5 separate regions of the Homo sapiens genome follow, and all the other regions are linked to region 3. Evidence: promoter capture Hi-C in 16 types of primary human blood cells and fetal thymus (Javierre and others, 2016). All regions are on one chromosome and are shown on one strand. The core of a region is centred on a gene start or on the middle of the fragment in contact, and the rest is flanking DNA. Distances in the headings are between cores, read along the strand shown.

Region 1 (5,612 bases), core at 496-2,995, 420 kb after region 3:
CAGGCTCTTAGAATAATAAAACCAGAGAATCTTTGAATACAGAACCATTGACTGTTAGAATCATAAACTATTGAGAGAAGAACCATGAAATTCTAGAATCTTGGCGTTGGAAGTTACCTCCCAGGTAAATGGGTTCTGTCTCCCCACCTAAGCAACAGGTATTTCTTCTGAGGAAACTGGGTGCAGCAATGATGTGGCCACAACACCTTGTAGATGTGGGAAGATGTCCACGGTGGCCACAGTAAGAAGCCTTTTTGTGGTCTCTACCTTCTGAAATAGTACATGACGCAAGAAAATGTCCATGCTTGTCACGACAAAAACTACTATTCCCTGGAAGTCTGTGGTACTTTTGAACTCTCTTAAAACTTTACCCTCCTTGAAGAAGGTTTCAGGAGAAAGAGGAGGCCCTGGAAACTCTTGATAATGCCCTCAGCACTGCTTCCAAGGAGCGCCAGTCATATAGACCATCCCTGAGAGAAACAAGAGAAAACGGGAAATTCTGACTTCTCTCTACTTCAGAACTATGAGCTATTTTAGTTGGCATTTTTGCCCCCATCCAACTTTTTTTGGCTTCGCTATCTAAAACAAATAAATAAAACAGCTGATGCTGTGAACTGTAAAGAATCTGAGCTAATTTGGTCCTCCCCTTTCTCCCATCCATTGCAGACTTCGGCCATAGCGCGTGAGCATTAGAAAACAACTTGTCGCCCACTCAACTCTCTTTCTCATTCCTAAAGGAAAATATTTATATTACGCCACAGAACGGGTTTCCATGACAGTGACGACTGTAACACTGTTGCCTTAGCAACCACTTGAGTCCATCTTGAATGATCTGAATCCCCTTCACAGACAAATAAGGAAAATCTGTCAAAAGTGCCATTCCGCTGGTGGGAAGTCCTGGAAGACGGTTTTCTCGCGCCCTCGTTCTCCCTCCAGGTCCGTCCCCCCGGTCCCCCAGTACATCTCCCCTAACGCTCACTCGGGAACTTTCCATATTTGCTACTCTTTCAAGAGCTTGCCCTCGCCCTTCTCCTAGTGATTAGACCCTAATCCACCATGGAGACGCTGCCCAGAGCTCTGCAAAGGGTTAAGGACTGGCAGGCAGAGCCGTGCCAAAGACAACAAGAGACAGAATAAATACACAGATCATCCTTTTTATAGGGCCTTGCTCTTGCCCCTGGAGACTGGGTGCACGTTTTTCTCTATCAGTCCAGAGCAACTCTGAGGGGAGAGTTTTATAGGAAAGACCAGTCCTCCTTGAGGTTCAGCTCTCAGTCACAACAAGTGGGCAGGTTGCCTCTCGGGCCTCAGTTTCCTCATCTGTACGATAAAGGGGTTGAGTGGAGGGTCCTTCTGGCTCTTACACTCTAGGAATTTGGGGGAATCAAGAATGTATCATCTGGCCGGGCGCGGTGGCTCACGCCTGTAATTCCAGCCCTTTGGGAGGCCGAGGTGGATGGATCACTTGAGATCAGGAATTCCAGACTAGCCTGGCCAACATGGTGAAACCCCGACTCTACTAAAAATACAAAAATTAGCAAGGCATGGTGGTGGATGCCTGTAATCCCAGCTATGTGGGCAGCTGAGGCAGGAGGATCGCTTGAACCCGGGAGGCAGAAGTTGAGAGGTTGCAGTGAGCTGAGATTGAGCCACTGCACTCCAGCCTGGGCAACAAAGCAAGATTCTGTCTCAAAAAAAAAAAAAAAAAAGAATGTATCATCTTCTTTCTCCCAAAGTCATCAGATTTCTTGTAGCATGCCTACAGAGAACTCAGATAGGACATCAGGACAAGTGACATCCTGGAGTGACATGGAGCACGCCAGCATTCACAGGGAGGTGCATCTTCCCCCATCACACGTGTGGGCACAGGTGAAAAGCACCGTCGGCATCAGCGGCAGTGGTGCTATCAGCACCGTAAGCACACACTGCAGACCAGGCCACTCCAACTCAACATCTTTTACTGGAGAAGGTGCTCCTGCAGGCTGATTAAATCAATAAATGAGCCCTCTCAGGGAAGCAGCGACTTTTCTCCTGGAGGAAATGTTTTCAATGCAATTCATATCCATCTCTGGAGTTTTCTTTGCCTCTTTCCTTATTGAAAAACAGCTTGAAAAGCTAGAAATGCTGACCTGTTTTCTTTCATTCATCTTCCTGCTTCTTACTGACAGGGAGAAAGCTGTTTTAAGAGAGAAAAAGAGCAGTTTAAATCGTTTTTATAATTTTACTAGCCGGCAAGAAAATCACTTTGCTGGATTTGTATGGAGACTAGGAGAAATGGAACAAAACATGGGTGGAGGGCCGGGGAGAAAAGAAAAAGAAGAAGCTGGTGCCACTTTAGGAGGAAGCTGAAATACCTCTTCACCAAAGCCCTTCTTGGAAAGTGTAATATCTACAAAAGTCACTTCAGACCTTTTCAGACTTCTGACCTAACTGAGAGGCAGGATGGAGTGCAGGAGTTTAGAGTGGGCTTTGGAGTCATACGAAAGTGGGAATGCACTTTGCTCCCACATCCCGTCTTGCCTGCTGGCCACAGCTGATTAGAGTAGGCAGGAGTAGATCCCTGACCTTAAGACAAACTAAACACGGCCTGACCTGATCTGACCCAAAAGGATTGGCTGGGTCAGCTGGTTTTCTTTCCTTAGGAGCCTGAATAGGAAGTAAAGAAAGAATTCAGCCTGGCGCGGTGGCTCATGCCTGTAATCCCAGCACTTTGGGAGGCTGAGTTGGGTGGATCACTTGAGCTCAGAGGTTCAAGACCAGCCTGGGCAACATGGTGAAACCCTGTCTCTACAAAAAATACAAAAAATTAGGTGAGCATGGTGGTGTGTGCCTGTAGTCCCAGCTACTTGGGAGGCTGAGGTGGGAGTATTCCTTGAGCCTGTGAGGTCGAAGCTGCAGTGAGCCAAGAACGTGCCACTGCACTCCAGCCTGGGTGACAATGTGAGACCCTGTCTAAACAAAACAAAACGAAAATAAAGCAAAGGAATTCCCCAGTCATTGGAGGACAGGTCAGGTCAATAGTGAAAGAACTGAAAAAGCACAACACTGGTAGTCATGGAATAAGATTCATCTCATCCAGACCATATCGTGTTCTGCATTTTTGTGAATCTGTTACCAATCTTTAAACTTTGGGATATTTTGCATAAAAACCCAGCTCTTTGGCTTCTCTTAAAAAGCCAGAAGCTCTGTAACACAGAGTCAGCATGTCCTGGCTGCAATCAGCTGGAGCTAGGGCCTGCAGCTGCCCGCTTTTCCTGGGCCATATGTTCTCCCATCCACCAGCCTCCACCCTGCCTTGTTACGCTCACACTCAGCTTACCTGCCTGCCCCATGTAGGCACTGGTGCATGCCTGTGTAGGTATTGGTGTGTGCAACCCCTAAATTAGAGGGAAGGCCCCTAGCAACTGCTTCCTGGAAACTACAATTGCCTTGAATACACAGCTGGAATTACTGAGGCAAACTTTAATATAGTTTCTGGTCCCAGATTTCCCAGAGGCTCCCCTTAATCTTATATGTGGAGCCTTACAATAAATCCTCTCTACCAAGCTAGCTTGAATGGGTCTTTATCCCTTGCAATAGAACAAGCCCCATGTATACAGGGGTAATTATTAAATTACCTCCCCTTCTTTTCCCAGCTCTCTCAGAGGCTGCAGTTTTTACAAGGGGCTGCTGTCTGAGAAGTCTAGGGGAGACTGGCTGATGATTGGGAGATGCATTCCTAAGGATTAGCTGGGCACCAGGAACCAAGGTCAGGCTCACTTTGCCAGGGGAGATACAGGAATGAGAGCTGACTCAGAGGCCAACAGCTTGTGAAAAATACCAAAGTAACTCCATAGGTACCTACCTGGGATTCTTTGGAGCCAGGTGTATGCAAGGCACAGACTGGTCCTCTGGACATAGTAAGCCAAGGGTGGTGTCCAGTAGGACTTTGGGGAAGCTTACCCACATGAGCAATCAGAACCAACCTCAGCCCTAGCCTTTGGAGGCCTCCAGCTGGACTGTAGGAGGAGCCCAAGGCAGCTGGAGTTCTCCAAAGGACTTGAGGGGCTCTGGACAGAGGTTATTCATCAACTAGTATGAAAGTATATAAATGTGAGCCACTGGTATGGTCCCACCTGTGACTGCGGGGCTTTAACTCAAAGAATAATCATTCTTTAAGTAGTCATGATGGATACCGGGCCTCGTGGTCACCAGGTTGCTGTGAGTGCAGCATTGGTACCTTAATGGGTTAATGCCAGCACAGCCCTGGAAATCTTCCTTTGTTATGTGCACAGGGATCTCCAGAAGCCTGGCTTTGCAAGGATTTGGGTTCAGAGATGTGTGTGAGCTCCAGGATATTGCAGTTTCTTATCACTGACTCTCAGGTACTCTGGACATGAGCCATACATCTCAGTAGACAGTGAGGTCTTTATCTTGTCTACTAGATTCAGACTGGGGTTATTGTGTGGATCAACACATAAGCAAGATGGAGGAATAGGGTTTTCCAGTGCCCATCTACCCACAGAAACATCAATTTGAACAACTCTCCATGCGTAAAAATGCCCTCAAAGGGTTAAGGAAACCAAGTGAGAGATTATAGCAAGTGGGTTGTAGCACAGAAGTAAGAGGTGTTTAAGAGGGTAGGGAGGAGAGTTTTACATCATCCAAATTGCCCCTCCCCCCAGTCCAGGCAGCAGAGGGCAGAGAGATACCCTCTATGTCGGGGAGGGAGAGGGAAGTGAACACCTGACTTTGCCTTGGGGCCTAACACTGGGCCCTCTCAGTAAAACTCAGTACCAGGCAGGACTCCACAGCCCAGCCTCCAGGCCAATACCCATGGACTAAGCCTCCAAACCAGCCCTGGTGCCAGGAGGGATCCTGAAGCCCCAGGCTCCGGGCCTGCATAGTGGAATGTCTCTAGGCCCGTCCCACTGCCAGGCTGACCCCAGTGGCCCCAGACTTTGGGACTACCTAGCACCAGGCCAACCACCACAGACTCAATATCCAGACGCAGTGGCCCTGGACTCTGGACCACCCTCAGCACTAGGCTGCCTCCCACAGCCCCAGGCTTCAGGCCTGCCCCAGCACCAGGTTGACCCCAGAGCCCTAGTCATCAGGTCTTCACCTATAGACCCAGTCTCAAGGCTGGCCTTTGTGTTCATAAGTTCTTATCATTTAGCTCTCACAAGTGAGAAAATTTAGTATTTAGTTTTCTGTTCCTGTGTTACTTTGCTAAGGATAATAGCCTCCAGCTCCATCCATGTTCCTGCAAAAGATAGGATCTCATTCTTTTTTATGGCTGCATAGTATTCCATGGTGTATGTATACCACATTTTCTTTATCCAATCTGATATTGATGGGCATTTAGATTGATTCCATGTCTTTGCCGTTGTGAATAGTGCTGCAGTGAACATTTGCATGCATGTGTCTTTATGGTCGAATGATATATATTCCTCTGGGTATATACCCAGTAATGGGATTGCTGGGAGGAATGGTAGTTTTACTTTTAGCTCTTTGAGGAATCACCATACTAGTTTCCACAATAGTTGAACTAAATTACACTGTCACCAATAATATATAAATGTTCCCTTTTCTCTACAACCTCACCAGCATCTGTTATTTTTTGACTTTTT
Region 2 (5,168 bases), core at 1,278-3,777, 430 kb after region 3:
CGCTTTGTGTGACTCACCGTTCTTTGCAATTAACTGTGATGTTCTGCTGGAGGCTTCCATTAGAAACGACGAGAACAGCTACTTTGGCCTAAACAGAGTGTGGTGGGCTTGATTGTTTCACCTCACGATTTATTGCTAAAGAGACAGAAGATGGGCCCCTGGGCAGGTCATGGCTGGCCTGAGTCCTTCCCGCTGCACAAGTTTGTCCTGTGATCTGGGTCCCCATGGCATATTCAGTCCTGAGGGCCAGGCCTGCACACTCACACAGGCTCAGTGGCACCTGGCTAGACAGCAGGAGCCAGGAAGCGAGGCTGGTTCGAGGAGGTTGGCAAGGAGAGAAATATGGTTTCTTCTCTGGGAGTTTGAATCCCATTTAATTCAGGAAGCTTTAATTGAACACCTACTCTGTGCCAGGCACACTGGGGGATCAGATGTGAATTAAAGCAATCCTCACTCCCTAGAAACTTAGAATTTAACAGAGATGAAGGCAAATCTATGACCAGTCCTGAGCCTCTAGTATGCCACTGAGCAATTATCATAGAAATATAGAGAAGGATGAGATTTTGCAACCAGAGGGGGCCCTAGAAAGGCTTCACACAGCTGCCATTTGTTGAGTACCTACTATGTGTAGGATACTCCCCTTGTTTAATCTATACAACTCTGTGAGGAATGGGATTATTGTCACCCCTATGTTGCAAATGAAGAAACTGAGGTTCTGAAAGGTTAAATAACTTGCTCAGAAGTCACATAGCCAGTAAGAGGTACAACCAGGACAAGATTCTGAGTCTGAAACATGTGCTTTTTCAAGAAGGCCAGGCTACCTACTTCTTAGAGGAGGCTGAATTTGTCCTGGGCCTGAAATAAGGCTGATATTTTGTCACACAGCTCTGAGTGGGGAGGGCCTTCCTTCTGCTTCTGCTTCTAGGCAGGTACAAACCGCCTGTTCTGAGACACAGCTAATGTCCTTTCATCTTCTTCCCACAGGGGACCAATAAAGCCTGAGAGTAGGCTTGGGAGGGGCCACATTCCTCCCAGGAGGGGCTAGTTCCTCTCTCCAGCCTCTGTCTGTGATTCAGCCCTAAATACATAACCTAAATACGTAACTGTCAATTCAAATAATACCTGCCCACTGGAACCAACAACCTGGATTCATTTCACACCTGCTGGGAGCCATTAGTGGCACAAACACATTCTTTACATCACCCAAGGCAAGTTTGTTCGCAGTCATAGCAGTTTAGACTACAGCGCTGGAAGGCAATGGAGTGCTTAGAGACAACCAGGTTCGAGTACCTCTTCTCACAGATCCACACTGAGGTACAGAGAAGGGAAGGGGCTGGCCTGAAGGCTTCGAGGAGAGACATAAGAAAGGACACCATCTTCTCCGTGCTCCACACCTGTTGGGAGGAGCAGGATGAAGATTCACTGAGCACTATTTCTGAGTCTGCAGGTATTTGCCCTTAGTGTTGTGCTATCTCATTCATCCTCATCATAGCTCTGATTCGAGGTCCCTGCACACCCTTTCCAGATGGGAAGCCTGATAAGCTGAGGGGTCCTGGGAGGTGTCCCAGGTCACATGAGAAGAAGCACAGCCAAGGTGGGAGCACACACCTGCTGGCTCCAAAATCCCACCATGGAATGAAAGGAGGCAGTTGTTCCCCTCTCTCTTTGAACTTGCAAAATGGGGTTGGGTTGAGTTTGGACCCAGGGGGTCTATGACACAGTTTCTCCAGCTCGGAGGGGCCCAGCCCTGGCCTTTCCCATGGTGTGTCTTCTGAGCTGCGTGAAATAATGTCCAGCCCTGGGCAGGCATGAAGTGACATGCAGAGGCTGTGGAAAGTGTATCTACATTTCGTGCTTTGTTCCTAAATGACTCATGCAGCCCACAGAACAAAATTAATGTCTTGTCCAGCACCAGCAAATTGCATTTCTTTCTTTGAAAAATCAGTCAGGCTGCAAAGGGCCCTGGTTTATTCTGGGGACATGGAGCCATCCTGTGGCTGCTTCCACTGGACAGGCTGGAAACAGCAATCAGGCCCCTCGGAAGGGCCCCTTCCAGAGGTGGTCTAAGCCTTGTGCTCTGCTCCGGCCAGACCCTCTGCTCCTGCCAGTGACAGGTTGTTACACCCTTGTCTCCTCTGAACCGATGTTCCACATATGATCAAGTGCTTTCCAAGCCCCCGTACCACTCCCCTCACACGGCCCCTCTCCCCTGCAGGTGGCAGACTTACTCATTCTCATGCTTCAGCTCCAGGGGTTCCCCTGTATGAGTCTTCTCTGCCCGCTCCCACACCCCAGGTAGCATTGCCCCTGCTTGCTTTGTGCCCTCACTGTCTCCACATATATACACATCTCTTACAATAATATTAAATACCAGCCAACATTTATATAGTACTTCTTATGTACCAAGTACTGTTGTCTATCTATCTATCATCTATCTATCTATCTATGTACACACACACTCATATTATCTTCACAATGCTATGAAATAGGTATTATTGCTGTCCATTTTACAGATGGGGAAACCAATCTATAATTGGTTTAGTGAGATTTACTGAGCATATCTACAGGTATTTGTCCTTGGTTATAGGAAACCAATCTGTCACTGGTTTCCCCTTCTGTAAAATAAGTTAAATAATTTGCTTAAGCTCACTCAGATAGTGTGTGGTTGAGTCATAATCTGAGCTACTCTCTGGCCCAAACTGCTTATTGTAACCACCACATCATATGGCCACTTCAGCACCAGTCACACCTCATTTTACTTGTTGATGTCTCAGTTTTCCCCTCTATTCTGCGGGCTACTTGAGAAGACTTCTGTCTTCTTCCTCTAGGTATCTCTGTGCTTGACTCAGTATCGAGACCATAGGTGTGTGGGTGGGGTTAATCCACACTTGCTGAACACATGTGTCCGTGCCCAATGTCCCTGTGCATAGTGGCTACTTCCCATGGTTCACACGCATCTTCATGGCTCTTGTTTCTTCCATTCACCCATCCCATGTCCCTGGCCCTGTTCTCAGTGCTGAGGATGGAACCTCATTGCTGCTGCTTCCAGCCCTGGCCCTGCCCCTGTTTGGGGCTCAGTGCTTCATCCCGTGGAGCTCAAGGGGTGCTGTGGGTACTGACAAACTTGTACCCCATTCCTAGTTCAAATTTTTCTTTGCCTTTCAAAGGCACTTGGTGTGTGTTCATACATTCAACTAATAATGTTTGGATATCCACCACACATCAGGCACTGTTCTAGGTGCTGAAAACACAGTGCGGGGACAAGAACAAGGTCCCACCATCGTGGTGTCACATTCTGCTTGGGGAGACAGACAGTAAGCCATCAGCAGCTGAGTAGTAATACAGTGCCACGTGGTGGTCAGCACCGTGAAGAAGAAAGCCAGATAATGGCAGAGAGTAAGGGGGTGGTCAGGGAGGGTTGTCTCTGAGGATGTGATATTTCAGCAGAGACCAGATGAAGAGAGGGAGAGAGGGAGGCTGATATCTGGGGGAAGAGTGTTCCCTGGCAGAGGGAACAGCAAGAGCCAAGGCTCTACAGTGGCTCATATGGGGAGAGATTGAGAAAGCGTGAAGCCCACTAATGCAGGCGCAGAGTGAGACAGGACAATACAGTAGCAGAGCCTGGAAGTCCTCAGGGGGCATGGAGAGCCTTTGCAATTTTATTCCCAATGTGTTAGAAACATCTCAGAGGGGCTTGTGCAAGGGGCCGGCACAATCTGTGCCATGTTTTAAAAACTTGAAAGCATGAGTTTATGTATGTGCTGTCCCCCTCAGTTACGAGATCAATAGTGGCGTTTTTAGTGATGTTTTCTTAGGAGTTCTTTCTGTTGCCACTGCTATTTCTCAACACCCCCCTCTCTCCAAAGCCCACATTGTTTCTCTCATGGACTCAACTGGCTTCAACTAGAACTTACAGTCTAATAAGAGACACAACCAAGTAAACATTGGACTGCTGGTGATATGAACTGTGATAGGGCGGCTTTGGGGACTGTGGAAGCACAGAAAAGGAGCTGCTCAGACACAGAAAGCCAGGGATGGCTTCTGGAGGCCAGGGCATCTGACATGAGTCCTGAAGGGTGAGGTCAGCCGCATGAGAATGCTCTAGGCAGGGGAAACCACGCATGTGAACTGAGAAACCGTGACGCTGCTGTCACAGTGGCCTTGCCTGGGTCCTTAGTTCCCTCACCCCCATATCCTTCAGTCCCCACCTAGGCAACTCCAGTGCTAGCCAGGCTGGGTAAATCCTCTTCCACTGCTGAACACTGCTGTAGAAATTTGCCATCCCTGGTTCCAACACAAACTCACACTCTAATCCCAGCTGGATCTTTGGCCATTCGGTACTCCTTCTTTCCATGATAATTAACTGCCTGCCACATTCCCAGCAGCACGTATTCCAGGCTTCTATTTTCTTCCCACCTACCCCACTCACTGAGGGTGACCTGACCTCCTATTATGATGTGCCTCCCACTCCTCCTCCCACTGTGATCTCCACCTCAAAGAATGTTTGTCTTCAACCCCATCTCCTTCAAACGATCTCAGAAAGAGATACGATTATTCTTTTTGAGATTAACCCCTTGGAAAAAAAATTGAGCATTTATTTTGCCTTGCCTGGATTGTATTGCAGGGTAAGCAAAAAGCCCAGGTTGATAAGGGAAAGTTCTTTTTCATAAAAGCTTAAAAATTTGAATAGAGTGCAGAAGTAGAAAGTCATCTTTTTGCAATCCCATTTGGTTTAGGCAAAAATCATAAGCAGATGAAACAATCAGACGGTTTATTAATGGGGGACTTTCCATGGAGAGATAAAGCTGCCACAAGCTGATCCTGCTGCTCAGTTTTATCACGATCGCTAACAATGGCATCAACAATGCTATGGGTTTGCCGATGAGATGAAATATACAATGGGTGGCACTTTGCCTGCACATTGGAATTGTCTGGGGAGCTTTAACTACTGATGTCTGGGATCCATTTCCACTGATTATGATTTTAAATGCCTGGGATGTAGCCTGGGCATAGAGATGGTTAAAAACTGCCTCCAGCTGATTCCAATGAGATGCCAAGGTTGAGACCACTGCCAAATGAAGTACAAGGCTTCAGTGTGAACTGTGCTAGCTCCCGCAAGAGTTGAGTCTCATCAAGCCTTTCAAGTTCATCTGTAGCTGAAAATATTT
Region 3 (4,942 bases), core at 1,307-3,806:
TACATTTTAGCTATTTACGGTATAATTTTAGCAAACTTTTATCACTATCAATAAACATATACTGAGGACAAATAAGGTACAAGGCTAAATGTGGCCTAAAGAAAGGAGTCTAAATCACAGGTTTTTATCCTCAAAGAGCTTACTCTATTCAACTGAACAGATACGGCACACCCAGCAAAACAAAAAAGACACATGTTAAGCACATGGGTTTGGATTAAATGATGTAGGAATTTATTAAGATTTTGTAGTTGAAGAGATAGATAGAACTTAAAAGTATAATAAAAAAACAGATAATGTTCAAGGTCAAAACAAATTTATCAAGGTCAATTACTCAGTTTTTATAGTAGACATTAGTGGATGTTAGCAGCCCAAATAAAATCATAACTGAAACAAATGGCGTAATTACACGTCATGGAAGTTTTTGGTTGCTGAATGTAGGACCCTGTATTTGGCTATGTGAGCTTTAGAAAGTCCTTTAACTGTGCTGAGGCTTGATTTCTAACCTATAAAATGGGTTTTTTCACTCTGCCTATGTCACAGGGCGGTTAAAAGTTTCAAATGAGACTCTCTTTACTTCTATCATGCAAAATACCATATATTTGTATTAGGGATTTCGTTTTGAAGTAATAGTCCCTCTAATCTTAATAAAAAGTTCTAAGCCAAGAGACAACCTATAGTCACCAATAAAAGTAATCTGCCCCACTTTTGGGCAGGCATAAAAGTTATTAAATATGTGATTATGAAGCTTGATATTATCCATGACTGTAATTTCTATTACTTTTACAAATATCAAACCAGGGATTTTGGTCTGTCTCATTTTCTGTGTACTATCCAGTATCTAGAAGAAAAATCACTGTCACGTTTTTGATGCGTTTTATGTCACATAGATATCACGTGGATGACCATATTAATAGACAAAGGCAGTAGGAATAGAATTTGGTAATACATGCTTTAAATAAAGGTAGGGTGGAATAAGGATGAGGGTAGAGAGAGCTGGATCACAATTTCTCAAAGTGTGACAAGACTATATCCAGGCCCCGCCCCAGGCCCACACACTCTATCTCTGAATGTTAACAAGGACTCTGCATTGAAAATCCCCGCTCCACACTCCCATGGGGACTCCTGTGCACTTTCAACTTTGAGAGGACAGCACTCTTGAGTGGAAATCCAAGTGCCCAGTGTTGTTTGTAATCGATTTGGTCACCTACAGAATTCCTCCCCCTTCACCTCAATTACCTCAAGGATCTCTGTATCACCCCAGTGTGTGTGTGAGAGCTTTGAATTTTAGACCCATCAGTCTCAAAGGCAGAGTATAACAAGAAGTAAGTCCAAAATGCACAGGCAGACTTCAAGGAGGAATCACCCAAGAAAAGAAATACCTGCATTCTGGTTCCCTCCTCTCTTCCTTTCAACACCCACGGGCAAATAACTCATCAATCCCAGGAATCCAAAACTCCTTCCTTCTCAGGGGGCTGGGTGGACTGGAGACAGGCTTATTTCACAGCTGAGACTGGGGCTACCCATCTCCCAATTCTCCAGGAGAACTAGGATATTTGTCTCCCAACTCAGTTAACTGTTAATACAGTATGTTACATAAGCCCCTTGGATAAAAAACAAGGATTGAGGGGGAAATATTAGATAAAGGAATTTTCTTTTACAGTTCATGGTATAACAAATAGAAGTTTGCTAAGAGTTTCAAATACTGAATATATACTCGACCCCACACTTCCTCCCCAATTTCCCCATAACCCTTGCAGAAAATCAGCAAGATGCTGTTTAAAAACACCAAAAAACCATTGAAATAAAAATGATATCTAGGCCAGAGTTCACAAATTGGCAGGCCTGCAGGGTGATTTTGCCCAGAGAAGTTTTGTTTAGTCTGCAGAGGTGTTGTTTTTAATTTGAATTAGTTGCCAACTTAAAAAAAAAAGTCTACAATTTTTACATAAAAAACCAAGTAACCAAATTCTTCTGCACAAGTACAGGTTGTTAGTACAAGGTAACAATTGCCAAAAGCTCAGCGGCAGCTGTGTCCTCCAGATGAGTCCCCGGTGGCAATAGAGGCCCACTCCAGAGCCAGCCCCCCACAACCCCGTCAGTGCTCACCCCTTGAGCCCTGTGTAACACAGGCGTTCGTGTTCCTTGGCCTAACCAAGGAATAAACAGCAACCAGCCATATTTTGCCGTTCTTAATGGTGACTTTCAGAGCAAAACGGGAAGGGGATCAGAACCAGACAAAGGGACCTTATTTTTTCCCCTGCATTTCATCTAGAAATAAAATGACCTCCAAGTAAATACTGGTAGGCATCTGGAATGGACCAGGCCTGGGAAAGGTATACTCATATATTCTTCCCACTCCCGCCCCATTGTGGCCCCCACACCGATCCACCTAACACAAGATAGATAGATATGAAATACCATGGCCACCATCTTGCATCCTTTGGTAATATTGTTGACAACTACCCCCCTATCCCAGAGAAACTTGAAATAAAGACAGGCCCCCAGCACATCTTCTATAAAAGAAGGCCACAAGCATCCGAGATTCTAGAATACCACAGATAAAGAGGTCAGGTTTGGAGTGTGCAGAGAAGGTTCCCTTCACACACTTTTTTGACAAATGAATGACTCTGGACAAGTTACTCCTGATGCCTCAATGCCTGTAGAAATGTAAAAACCACCTGCAGTGTAACCAGGAGATTTCTATTTCAAAAGCAGATGTACAAATAAGGTCCTTAGCTAATCTCCTACTGTTAAAACATGTTAAAATCAGATAAGTAATATTACCTTGTATAAATCAGCAATTGTCCCTTATATGTAAGTGAAATGGTAATAACTGAAGTTCAATTCTATTAATAGTAGGCAGCATCCAATGAGGAGTCAGGAACCTGCCCTCAGTGAGGGACAAGACTATCCTGGCAAGTCATTCTTCCTCTAGTTCTGTGAGACGGGAGAATACCAGTTACCTCTCCCTTACCTACTTTATAAGGATGTCGTAGTCCATCAACCATCTGGAGTACCTTGGGAACAGGGTGGTATATAAACAGTCATATTCGTATTATCATTAGTCTTGCCTCACAAGCTGCCTCAATGTAATGATAACTTTTTAGGAACCTGGTAAATAAGACAAACTGCTTCCCCTCTCCCAGTGAGAAAGGATAGGAGTGAGGGAGACAATTAAGGAAGAAGCCCAGATCAACACCCACCTCTGTTCTGATGGATACTGGTTTTCAGGCATCATCTTTGGCATCTGCAGGGGCTGATGTGGTGGTCGGGGGACCGCAAATGTTTGCTGCTGTGGTCCAGGCTCTGGAAGCGAATGGGGGGCGGGGGCGGGGCCCACACCTTGAACTGGGCCAGCTGCAGGGGCATGCCCTGAGGTGGGCAGAGTTGCCTGAGGTGGGGGAAATAGGGGATTCTGATGGGTGGGTGAGAGGGGGGTTGTAGGAGGGGTTAATGGCTTGAACCCAGAGGGAGGCTTCCTATCATAGGCACTGTAAACAGAAAAAGAGAAGGAACCATTAAGCTGAAATGAAGCCATTAGCATGGTTACCAGGTCCAGCAGAAAGCTAGTTTGCAGCCCATTGTTGCCAGGAAATAACAGCATTAACATAGTTAAATCGCTCGTAGCCCCGAGGGGATATTTGTACCTCTGAAAAGTGACAAACACACTGCGTCACAGGGACTTGTTTAACACTTCTAGTGATTTTTCTCAAGGATAATTTTAGCCTCTGCTTCCGGTTTCCTTTTTCCCTCCTTCTAAAAGAATTCTCCGTGTATGCCTGTGTAGGGTGGGTGGGTGAGGGGAGAATGTATGTTTGCCAGGTGTTCTCTGGTCCCCTCTCCCAACTATTTCCAGGGTTCCCAGGAATTAGTCAGAATATGTGTTGAAGGTCTGTTTGTGCTGTGACATCATTTGAATTAACAACTCTTCTCCTCCCCCTTTCAGGCAAATCTATGTTTATCTTCTAGAGCAAAGAATGATTTAAAATTAAAGCTTCATTCCTGGGGCCTGGATATTCTTAAGTAAAGGGCACAAGCTTCAAGACTTTTTCATATATTCTGATTTGGAGATTACTTCTCTGGTGCTTAAAGTTCACATTAACATATGATAGACATGAAGAAGTATATATTACCTGCCTCAAAGCCACAGATCAAGTATCCCAGGATTGAGACTCTTTCCCTAGAAGGACTGGGTACCCTATGAACTTAGTGCTCTGTAGAGCCACAAGGTTTTTAATGGTTTTCTTTTGTGTGCAGTACAATGATCCCAAGGGGACTGGACTACACCCGGAGGATGACACTGCCATGAAAGAAGGATATGTTTTACCACAGGGTCTGCTGGGTAAGTAACACTGGGAAGGAACATTCAGCTTGATGGCTACTTCCAGAGCCTTTCTGGGCAGCCTTTCTTCGACTCCTCTTGCCCACTCACCAATAGTTGTAGAGGCACTTTTCTCCATAGTTAGCACCAAGAGCCTGCTCATGGCTACAAGACGACAGCTCAGAGGAGGGGCTGTGCAGCTCCCGTTTGATCTTGGTTGGAGGTGGGGCATGAAGCACCACTGAAATCAGAAGAGGGATGAGAGGGGAATAGAGAGAGAACAGCTGATTAACAGGGAGCACAATGCTTCCTTCTGCAAACCTTCTAACTAGCTGATTGTTCTTGGAACTCATGTCAAGTCACATGTCAGAAAAAGCAAAACGCTTAAACACACAACCTCCCATCCAAAGCCAATTAAATTCTTCAAAGTCAGAAAAAGTATCATCATCTGATACTTTTAATTAGCCAAGTCTTTTTTCCCAAATTTCTTTGGTCATGGGTCTTGCTTTCCAGAAGCTGCAAAATCCTTAAAAACCTTGCAGGTAATGGGTCTCCACCAAAAATGCAAGTGGCTGCAGACATGAAGAATTTTGTTTCCAAAAAGGACAAAACGACCAAAAA
Region 4 (5,354 bases), core at 1,684-4,183, 280 kb after region 3:
ATGGGAAGTGTGTGCAGTAAAGACTTTGCCCAGAGTTATTTGTAGTTGCTAAAGACAGGAAGCAACTTAAATAACTAACAGTGTAATAATATGCAGCCAGGAAAACAATGTTCATGAAGGTCTTTTGCTACAACACTAATTCAGAAAAAAGCAGAGAACCAATAGCTACAGGGGCTCAGCAACCATACTTTTGAGTCAGACAGCCTGGGTTTGAATCTTGATTCTGCCACATACTAGCTATGTAACTTGGGCAAGTCACCTGAAGTCTTAGAACCCTAGAAAAATGCAACCCTAGAAAAATGGGATTGATAGTAATAACACCTCAGAGGGACTCCTGAGGATTAAAGGATATAATGAATATAAAATTTAACACCATGCAAAGTATACTTATTAGGCACCCAATAAATGCTGGCTCTCTATGGATTGTATAATTTCGAGGCATAAAAACAGATGGAAAGGAAATATGCCAGTATATTAACAGTGTGGGATGGGAGTGGTAGGATCATGGGTGATTGATTTGTTCTTTGCATACTTTTCAACTTCCCAATTTTTAGGCAATGAACATGAATTACTTTTATACTAAAAGAGTACATTATAATGATGTAATACAATAAGATATACATTTTAAAAGTTTTAAAGTTTTACCACAAAGAAAAGGTACTTCCCCGCCCTTTTCCCCCTTCTCTTCCAGGGGAGGAGATGGGGCCAGCATCCACCAACTCCCATCAGTAGGAGAGGGGAGAGTTGCTGGCTTCTGGGTTCTTTCCTCGCAGAGGCTCACACATGCACAGCCTGGGCCTCTGGGAGTGTCCGGGTTGGAGGGATCCTCACCATCTGTTGATGGTGTTGTGTGGGGAGTTGGAGCAGTTGGGGGAGCTGGAACAGATGATCTTAGTAGTTACTCCCATCTCTGAGAGTCTAGATTTCAAGACACGCTGATGTTTGTCGTTTTCTCCCCATGTCTCGGTTGATCTGAACCAACCACTCCATAAAATTCTAAGGTAGGAAAGACTCATCTACTAGCTTCCCACCCTAAAGCCCCTCCCAGAAAAATACCTGTAGTAATGCCTATAGTGCTGGGTGTAAACGTTAAGGGTGATTGGCAAAAAAGACATAGATCAGGAGTACGACCGGGAAGTTGGCTTAGTTGCAGCCGTTTTATTTAAGGAGTATAATTCATATTCGGAATGGAATCTCCAGCAAATGTAGTCTTTTAATATGACAAACAGTTAAGTACCTTCCCATGTTAGACACATGCCTGGAATGAGAGTGAGAGGGACATAAAATATAAAGGGGTGTGTGTCTGTGCCTGGGTTCATGACCAAACCTCGACATTTGCCCTCTATGATCTAATTTCCTTCATTGACAACCAGGGTGCCCTGTGTGCCAGCAAGTGGCTCTGCCAGCTGTATTTTACAGACAGAGAATCCCAAGCACCAAAATAACAAAGTTGATTCCCCCATCCAGACCAGAGGGGTCGTTTCCAGTCCTGTGTCCTGACCACTGTCTCTCATCATGACCCCTGGTGTTCACCTCCAGATCCAAAGTGTCGTCGCCAAGCCCCCAAAATAAAGGAATGACAAACAGCCCTCCCAGGCCCTCCTCCCCACAGAGAGGTCATCGTATGCTAATGAAGTCCGAGGAGGCAGCGGCGCAGCGCGGGAGAGCGCGCCCACGGGTTCACAGCGCTCCCGGGCACCACTGCGGCGCAGCCACAGATCGCTTCGCGCTGCAGCAGACGCTCCCGCCGCGGGGGGCGACTGGGGGAGGGGTCTCGACCGCCACCCTGAGTTCCGCAGCTCATCCCTCCCATCTGGGAGGTGGTTCTAGCTCTAGTCCCAAGCTTTCCACTGCAGTGATGGTGGGGATGGGGGCAGCACGTCAAATCACCTGTAGGGCTTTTTAGAACTCCACAGCCCCCTCCCCTAATTCTATTCCACTAGTTCAAACGAAGAAAATCTCAGACTAGGCAAGGGGAGGTGGACCGGTGGAGTCTGCGAAAGCACCACAGGTGACTCCGGGTACGCACTCCTCAGGACACAAGCACACACACGGACACATCTTGTGACTCTGAGACTACACAGATCAACCTCAGATTCGACCCTTCCCTCCTTTATTCTCTGAGGTGTCCGTGTTCGCTTCAGCTTCCCTTTAAGTCGCCCTGCGCAGGGGCTTTGTGGAGTGCCCCCAAAGTCCTAGAACCCCGCGGGACGGTCGGAGGCTTTGGCGGCCAGACATTAGGAAAAGCATCTCCTGCTTCTCGGACTGCCTGGAGCGCGAACTGGATATCAAGGAGCCAAGGTTAAGTCCAGAAGAAGAAGGAAATCCGACCAGTTGCTTTAGCAAACTGCCTGGAGCAAGGCCGCCTCCCACCCGCACAGCTTTGAGGCTTGAGGGGGCCTCTCAGTCGCAGAGAGAGCCGAGCCCCACCCTGTGCGTTCCCCAAGCCTGCACCCCTCGAGCGGGGCATCCCTTCCTGCAGGGCTTTGTGGCAGGTGGAACTGTCGGGGTGGGCGCCGTGGCTTTGGCTGCAGCCCCTTCCCTGGCCGCGGGACCGGCTCCCGCTTTGCCCTCCTTTACCAAGTTGCTGCACCGGGTGCTCCCTGAGCCGGGGACCCCCTCCGCCGCGCCGGCCGCCGTCTTACCTCACCAGGCAACACTTGGTTGCGCGGTGGCCCGGGGCGCTCCTTCTTCGCGGTTTATTCCCTTACTTGGGAGGAAAGAGGAACCGAGAGACAGAAGGGGGACCGAAGCTGGCCTCTGGGCGTCTTCCCGCCTGCGCAGCCCTCTCGGGGGAGGGGGATGCAGCCCCAGTGGGTGCCGCGGAGACCAGGCTGCCAGGCTGTGGTTGGTAGCGCCGGGGTCTTCACCCTGTGCTCGGAGTTCAGCAGCTCCAAAGCTGTCTATCTCCGTGGCCCGCTACTACGGCACTGCGGCTCTGTGCCCTGCCCCTCGCAGCCTGGCAAGTCCAGCTGCCACTCTCACTGCGGAGCCCTGCCCCCGGGCGCAGAGCCCGCCCCCGCCACACACACCGGCGCGCGCGCGTACACACACGGCACACACAGACACGCGCTTCCACACATGCACACGCGTGCGCACACACGAATGTGGATCCGCTCGATGGGAACCTGACCCCCTTTGGTGCAACTAGGGCGCGGGCATCATTAGGACGCTTTTTACTGACAGGGCTTCGGTTTGGGAGGAGGAGTTACAGGCTTAGGAGTGTGGAGAGGATGCAACAGTGGTGGGTACCAGAGGGCCCCTGACCCCGGAGGCAAAGGACAACTGTTTGACAAATAAATACCGACTGGGCGTTTCCTTTTCTCAACTCTGGTCAAGGCTACCGTAATATCCCGACCAAATCGAAGAAAAAATAAAAATACAAAATCAACAAGTTCTCTTTGTTTCCCAGGAACTCAGTATCTCTAGGATCCAAATCACTAGCCCTGTCCAGAGGGTCATTTCTGACAACCTTGACTTCGGTGGCAGTGGATTGGTGGCAGTTCAACTCGAAAAGGTTTTCCCCTCGTAGCCTGGTGGAGACTGGCACAGCCTGCCTGAGCTGGACTCTGTTGGATGGGTCGGGTCTCTGGGTGTGTTTAATTCCCATTCTCCTTTGCTTTTAGGTGACCTTGGACTGTATTCCTGCAGAATAAATAGATCTCTTCTTTTTTTAAAATGTAGAAGAGCACAGAAAAGACGCTGGGGTGAGGGGTCGGGGGGAATAGGGGAGCTACATTAGCCAAGGCACTATGACTTGTTGCTTCTCTTTCCATGACGTGCATGTCCACGTGAGGGGGTGATGGTGGTGGTGACACTATTTCAGGCATGTCACACAGCAAGATGACTGCTGTCCATTTCACACCACATTTAGAGTCATTAGGAGTTTAGACTGTCATCTTTAAAATATGTGGAGTTTACTCATTTCCACAGCCGAGAATTCTTTTCTGCCAGTGGGCAGTGAAGGTCCCCGGGCCAGCACTGCAGCCAAGAAAAGCTTTCCGCAGAGTGTGGAGGCGCCGAGGGGCTCTGGGTGTCTGTGCATTTGGGGAAGAAGCCTCAAACACGAATGTCAAACAGCCCTGAGGACCCTGTTGGGTGGTGTCCATACTAGGCTATCTGCAGGCAGGCTGGTGAGACAGATGAGAAACAGAGCTGAGAGATCTCCTTAAGATTCCACACAGTGATGAAGACAGAGCTGATACCAGAACCCCGTGTTTGCGACTCCTCTTATCCTCTGGGTCTTATCCATTCTATCACCCTGGGTGGCTTCTCAAAGTTTCCTTCAGCTAGGCTGAAATAATCTTGGTGAGGGTGCCTTCAAAGTTCTTCCTTGTCCTTTCTTTTTTTCCTCTTCAGTCACTGACTCATTCATTTTACAGCTATTTATTAAACTCCTACTCTGTCTTCAGGTGCTTCCCCGTAACTCCAGTCCTGGGCCTTACTTGGGAGGAAAGAAGAACTGAGAGACAGAAAGGGCTTAGAACTGTCCTCATCCCTGGAAGAGAGGAGCCCTGAGCACAGGTTTCTGGTATATATTTTCACTCTGCTAGGTTGCATGGATGTGGAAGACACAATCCTTGCTTTTTTTGACTGCATGCTCAATGGAGGAAAATGCACATACATGTCACAAGAAAAACATTCTGGCTGTCTATTCTTGACTCCTTCTAAAGAAGGCTAAACTGAAGGAGACCCTGTGTTTGGCTGAGCATCATAATGGACTTGGGGTACATGTTTGCAAATAGGTGTTAGGACAACATTGAGTTGCTCTGCCTATTAGGACAGGAAGGAAATAAATTGAATGGAACAAATGAAGAAGACATGCAGAGACTGAGTGTGGAGCCTTAGCTTCGTTGAGAGCACATTGGGGAAGGGTAACGAGAGGGGAGGAGCTCTGAGGACAGGGTTGCCAAGCAACTTGCCTGAGAACAGGCAACAGGGTTGCCAAGTTGTCCAGGGATTTGGACAGGGGAGATGCTTGCAAAGATTGGTAAGTAGTTTGCTGTGGGGTGGGCTATGAAAGCCCCCGGTCCTATGAAAGAAATCATTTGTAAAGTCAATATTGTTCATCGGTTTGCTTGCAAATGGATTCCTTTAGGATCAGGATGGAGCCAAATGATGCATCTGAGTTGCTGCAGAAGGAGTTCAGAGAAGGCTGTGTGGACTGAGTTACATGCTAATAACATGGAGGAAAAGGGTGGTAGTAGAGGCTGAAGCAATGTGGAAGGCAAAGAGGGATGGGGCGGGAAGAAGCACCAAGAACAATTAGTGCTAATGGAGGCATCATGGAGGAGGTAGGGTTTGCGATCGGATTTTAAAGGGGAATAGAGATCTCACTTAAAGATCAACAGGAC
Region 5 (5,367 bases), core at 1,734-4,233, 450 kb after region 3:
CCAGCATTTCTGGCCATCCCCATGCATTGGCTGAGAATTGCTGCAAAAATTGAATGGGCTTATGAGTCTTGACAAAAGGAAACAATCAAGAAAGTAAAGAGACAACCCACAGAATGGGAGAATATATTTGCAAACTACCCATCTGACAAGGGATTAATAACCAGAATATATAAGGAACTCAACTCAATAGGAAAAAAAAAATCTAATAATCTGAATTTAAAGTGGGCAAATGATCTGAGTTCACATTTCAAAAGGCTCACCTAGCCTTGAGTCCAGAAACCAGCTTCGGTCAGCACAGTGAAGATGGGTGGGTGCATCCAAGTTTGTAACTTACAAAGAGGAATAACTATCATAGGAAATGAACCCTTATGACTAATAGCAGTCACATTACTTGAAAGCCAAGTCAGAATCAGAGGTTTGCCTGAGAAACATGGAGCAGGATGAGGGATATTAGAGGACTCAAGTGTCTGACAGCTAGAAGCTTGAGTCCATCAGCAGTAGGTGAGTGTCCTGCTTGCTCCTGCCCAAGGGACAGCGACATCTAAAGGCACTAGCCAAGGCTTCCTCTTTCAGGAACAACACCTGGACATACCCACCTACTCATCCAACCTTGGTCCCCAGGACTCAACTTTTCTTATATTCTGTGGCTGGCCATGCCCCTTCTGTTTTTTGACTTGTTTCTGCATATAAGACATTTTTTGCTTCCAATCAGGATACAGTAAAACTGGAAGGATGGGGAGCCTATCTGTCTTATTAAGATGACTTTGAGGATCTCTGCTATATCCTTGATAAGGATACTTGATAACTTTAGGTCTTCAAGAGGACTCTTGTTTCTTTAAATTCCTAATGTATCAGTACTGGCAACAGTACACAAATAACCTGACACATAGTAAGTGCATGATAAATGCCCATTTAACAACAAACATTTACCCCGGTGATATGTGGGCAAAAGACACAGTCCTTGACCTCAAGGAGCTCACAATCTAAAGGAGATGAGAAACAACTACTCTGGATACTATGGACTGAGAAGCGGTGAAGCTGGAGTGTCACAGGAGCACTGAAGAGAGGTATGTTGTCAGAGAAGCCCCTGAGGGGACATCTAAGCTGTTAAAAATGATAAGGAGAAGACTCACAGAAAAAAAAAAAATGTAGGGAGGGTTATTCCCAGTGGAAAACAGCATGACACCCTTGGAAAATTATGTGATTCACTGCAAGTATATTCGATCGGAGGTGGGAGTCAGGGTACTGGGGGAGTGGAGAGCTATGAACCTTTGTGCCAGGTGGAATTAAGGGGCCCCTCTGCAGGCCTTAGGCTTTCCCAAGCCCCTTCCTCCAGCGGCGCTGCAGCCCCTTGCATTAGTCTGTTTTCATGCTGCTGATAATGACATACCCTAGACTGGGCAATTTACAAAAGAAAGAGGTTTAACTGGAATTACAGTTCCATGTGGCTGGGGAAGCCTCACAATCATGGCAGAAGGCAAGGAGGAGCAAGTCATGCCTTACATGGATGGCACCAAGCAAAGAAAGAGAGCTTGTGCAGGAAAACTCTCCCTTATAATAACCATCAGATCTCACAAGACTTACTATCACGAGAACAGCCTGGGAAAGACCCACCCCCATGATTCAATTAACCTCCCACCGGGTCCCTCCCACAACACATGGGAATTCAAGATGAGATTTGGGTGGGGACACAGCCAAACCATATCACCCCTCATGCCTGCTGGATGCCTCTGTGTACTGTGTCATGAAGTACATATGTCATGGTCCAGGAAGTTGGGATTTTGTTTGGCAAACACTTGGAACCCAGAGGATTAGAAGGGTTTAAATTAAGGATTTGACACACTCATGACTGTGTTGTAGAAAGAATGCTCTGAAGGCAGTGAGGTTCTTGATTTTTGAGGAGTGACAGAGAAGGCTGTGAGACCTGTGGGAGGACACACCAAGTACGTGTGCAGAGGCACAAGGCAGAGAGGCAGAGGATGGAGGATGGCTTTGAGAAATCCACAGAGGGTGGATTGGACAGGATTTTCTAACCAGCTGGATATGAGAGAAGAGAGGATAAGGACAGGATGATGGCTGGATCTTGAAGCTAAGAGAGAATGAGTCAGGAGAGGTAGATTTGGAAGTCATATGTAGGAAGAGAGGAAAGCTAAATCCATGAGAGAGTCAAGCGTGAAGAGGACCAAGAACAAAATGTCAGGGAACCCTGATATATTCAAGACAGGAAGAAATGTGCTGCAGTGGGGAGGAAGCTGAACAAACGTCTTTCTTTTCTCTACTAAGTAGAAGGTGGAGGTATCTGTGGAGGCCAGGCCATGTGATGGGGGGGACTTGGGGAGAGTGAGGAGGAAGCAGCTGCTGCTGAGAGTGGGTGAGGAAGCTGACTGGGGACATAGAGGAGGACTGCCAAGCACGGGTTGTTTTCTCCTGCCCTGACAGCTGCTGTCAGTCAGGGGACCAGATGGAATAATGAGGTAAGATTCTCCCAGCACAGAAGCTACACCCTGGGAGCAAAGCAGGTACTTCTAGTAAAGAATTTATTCCTCTGAACCACCAGAGGGCCACTGGTGCCTGATGGAGTAATTTGGTTACAGGAGTGTAGGAAGAAACTGTGAGATGTCCTCCCCAGTTACGGCCAGGAACAGGTCCTCCCTAACATTTGCAGACCTGGAGCAAGAATACAAACGGACGCCCACATACGCGACGTCTAAACATTTAGAATCTGTAAATTAAGCTATTCCTAGTGCCAGTCTGCATTCCTAGCTTGCAACCCAGAGGCAAAAGGAGCCAAGCCCTCCCCTAGGCCACCCCTGCTAACTGTGAACCTGGGAGTAGCTCAGATCTGCTGGGACAAGATGGCGCTAAAGCCGGACGTGGATTCCAGGACTCCCAGCTGATGACCTTCTGAACCCAGGATAGAAACTAACACAATCAAGATCCCCAGGAAGCCAAGGCAAATAGGTTTCACTTGTCATTTTCTCAACTCAGGATTTCCAGGTATTTCTAAGGACCTGCCAAAACTCCATCACTGGAGCAGAGAGAGGGGAAAGAGCACAGTTATCTTGGGGAAACTAGCCTGGCTATACACCCACTTTGGGTGGTTTGAAGCAACTATAAACCATAGTAGCCTTTCTGGAAACAACTCAATGTCCTTTAACTAGTGAATGGTAAAACATAATGGAACCAGCCTGACCAACATGGAGAAACCCCATCTCTACTAAAAATACAAAATTAGCCGGGCATGGTGATGCATGCCTGTAGTCTCAGCTACTCGGGAGGCTGAGGCAGGAGAATTGCTTGAACCCAGGAGGTGGAGGTTGCGGTGAGCCAAGATCACGCCATCACATTCCAGCCTGGGCAACAAGGGCGAAACTCCGCCTCAAAAAAAAAAAAAAAAAAAAAAAAAGAAAGAAAAGAAAAGAAAAAACAATGGGATACATCCATACGTACAGTAGAATGTCTACATACAGTAGAATAATACTCTAATAAAAAAGAACAAACCACTGTGCATGCAACAACATAGATGTATCTAAAGAGCATTATTCTAAATGAAAGAAGTTAGACACAGAAGTCTACATACTGCATGATTCCATTTACATGACATTAAAGGCAAGCTATGGGGAGAGGAAACAGATCAGTGATTCCACAGCAGGAAGTGAGGGGGCAGGGACAGAGATTAACTGCAAAGGGACATAGGGAGTTTAATTGGGTGATGAAAATGTCCTATGTTTTGATTGTGTTGGTAGTTAGCCAATTGTATGCATTTGTCAAAAGTCAGCAAACCAAACACTTAAAAAGGGTGAATTTTATAGTTTGCAAATGATACCTTAATAAAGCAAACCCCTCAAATAAGTAATTAGTAAGCAATTGATCAATCAATCAGACCCTCTTTCTCTAGTTTCCCAGAGAAGAGGCTGTGATTTTCTCCTTTCACCCACCTCCCTACTTGAGCATTCAGATCCGTATCCCCTAGTCTACAGAGTGTATTCCAGCCCATTGCCCTCTCCCATAATTTCCCTTCGCCCAACTGGTTACCAAACCAGACAGAGAGAGACAGAAAGATTTAGACAGGAAAGACAGAAAGTGTTTTTTTATTGTAGATTTTGAGATATGTAGGAACCTCCCCAAGGCAGAGAAGGGCTCCTCTTCCCAGGGCCTAAGGACAGTGTGAGAATGTCACTGCCTGAGAGAATCTGCTTTGATAAATCTAGGCATAGGTCAACTTTTAACATCCTATGGATTTTTCTCTCATTTAACACACAACTATTTGATAACAGACATTCTATGAACACTGAATTTTTGTTGAAATTTTGAGTGTACATTTTAAAAACAGTCCCATGGTCATTTAAAAGTGAATATTTTCCCCTAATCTACTGGTTGTGCAAATTTGAAATTTTTCCTGATTAGATTTGCTTAAAAGGAAAGGTGCCTGAAGAGTATGCCCCGAACCTCCATTGTGCTCTGCAGATCTGCCAAATTCATCCTTCCACTATGGCAGGACCCAGACAGAAACCAGAGAAATGGAGGGCAGGAGGGCAAAAGATCAGCAAAACCATGGATAAATACATTTATTATTTTTTTAATCTAACTTTAAGTTCTGGGATACATATGCAGAACATGCAGATTTGTTACATAGGTATACATGTGCCATGGTGGTTTGCTGCACCCATCAACCTGTCATCTAGGTTTTAGGCCTCATATGCATTAGGTATTTATCCTAATGCTCTCCCTCTGCTTGCCCCCCACTCCACGACAGGCCCCAGTGTGTGATGTTCCCCTCCATGTGTTCATGTGTTCTCATTGTTCAACTCCCACTTATGAGTGAGAACAGGTGGTGTTTGGTTTTCTGTTTCTGTGTTAGTTTGCTGAGAATGATGGCTTCCGGCTGCATCCGTGTCCCTGCAAAGGACATGAACTCATTCTTTTTTATGGCTGCATAGTATTCCATGGAGTATATGTGGCACATTTTCTGGATAAATACATTTCTATTTGTCTTCCAGGTGCATACTCATAGACATTCACACTTTCCCCCAACTCTAGCACTCCACTTCCCACTTGTATTTCACTAACATTACTTGAAACCATAGGGTCCACTGAAAGCATGCCTTAAACTTGTGTGAGGAAAATGGCTTTCTTGAAATTGTCACATCACAGAGAAGACTTTTGGCATGAACCCCCATCACACCAACAGGCTGGTCTTAAATATGGGGGTCTAGAAAGTCTGTAATCCACCTGAAAGTCACAGAGCCTTTTCTGTGATTCAATTTATTCATGAGTAAGATGGGAATAATGATAATTATCTCCTGTTTCTCACATAATCATGGTGAGGGTCAAATGAGGTATCGTATGTCAAAGAGCCTTACAAAC

The links. The method cuts DNA at HindIII sites, captures the fragments that hold promoters and counts their contacts. A CHiCAGO score of 5 or more calls a contact.
Region 1: a fragment that was not itself captured here is called in contact with the fragment with the promoter of ETV5-AS1 in region 3 in 2 of 17 cell types (naive CD4 T cells and naive B cells); the score reaches 5.7 in naive CD4 T cells.
Region 2: a contact is called between a fragment that was not itself captured here and the fragment with the promoter of ETV5-AS1 in region 3, in 2 of 17 cell types (neutrophils and megakaryocytes). The highest score is 5.7, in neutrophils.
Region 4: a contact is called between the fragment with the promoter of DGKG here and the fragment with the promoter of ETV5-AS1 in region 3, in 9 of 17 cell types (activated CD4 T cells, total B cells, naive B cells and 6 more). The highest score is 9.8, in activated CD4 T cells.
Region 5: a contact is called between a fragment that was not itself captured here and the fragment with the promoter of ETV5-AS1 in region 3, in 1 of 17 cell types (naive CD4 T cells). The highest score is 5.0, in naive CD4 T cells.

Annotation. Positions count from the first base shown.
Region 1 is chr3:186,492,959-186,498,570 of GRCh38, forward strand. It overlaps LINC02052 (long intergenic non-protein coding RNA 2052), which reads right to left and starts at 703. Exons shown (of 8, transcript NR_033844.1): 1 at 148-703. RefSeq lists an enhancer at 2,382-2,676. The HindIII fragment of the contact is 4,380 bases long and covers 1-3,935 here.
Region 2 is chr3:186,508,657-186,513,824 of GRCh38, forward strand. No RefSeq gene overlaps it. Among named protein-coding and RNA genes, the nearest start is that of LINC02052, 18 kb to the left of the region's middle. RefSeq lists enhancers at 2,281-2,370, 2,931-3,360. The HindIII fragment of the contact is 4,287 bases long and covers 385-4,671 here.
Region 3 is chr3:186,076,614-186,081,555 of GRCh38, forward strand. It overlaps ETV5-AS1 (ETV5 antisense RNA 1), which reads left to right and starts at 2,557. Exons shown (of 2, transcript NR_046594.1): 1 at 2,557-2,728; 2 at 3,947-4,334. It overlaps ETV5 (ETS variant transcription factor 5), which reads right to left. Exons shown (of 13, transcript NM_004454.3): 6 at 4,433-4,562; 7 at 3,204-3,491. LOC124909470 (a long non-coding RNA gene) reads right to left here and starts at 3,196. Exons shown (of 2, transcript XR_007096205.1): 1 at 2,419-3,196; 2 at 209-1,601. RefSeq lists a silencer at 954-1,149. The HindIII fragment of the contact is 3,249 bases long and covers 744-3,992 here.
Region 4 is chr3:186,359,301-186,364,654 of GRCh38, forward strand. It overlaps DGKG (diacylglycerol kinase gamma), which reads right to left and starts at 2,934. Exons shown (of 25, transcript NM_001346.3): 1 at 2,646-2,934. RefSeq lists an enhancer at 1,702-2,219 and a silencer at 3,004-3,093. The HindIII fragment of the contact is 2,154 bases long and covers 1,842-3,995 here.
Region 5 is chr3:186,526,950-186,532,316 of GRCh38, forward strand. No RefSeq gene overlaps it. Among named protein-coding and RNA genes, the nearest start is that of CRYGS, 15 kb to the right of the region's middle. The HindIII fragment of the contact is 5,009 bases long and covers 480-5,367 here.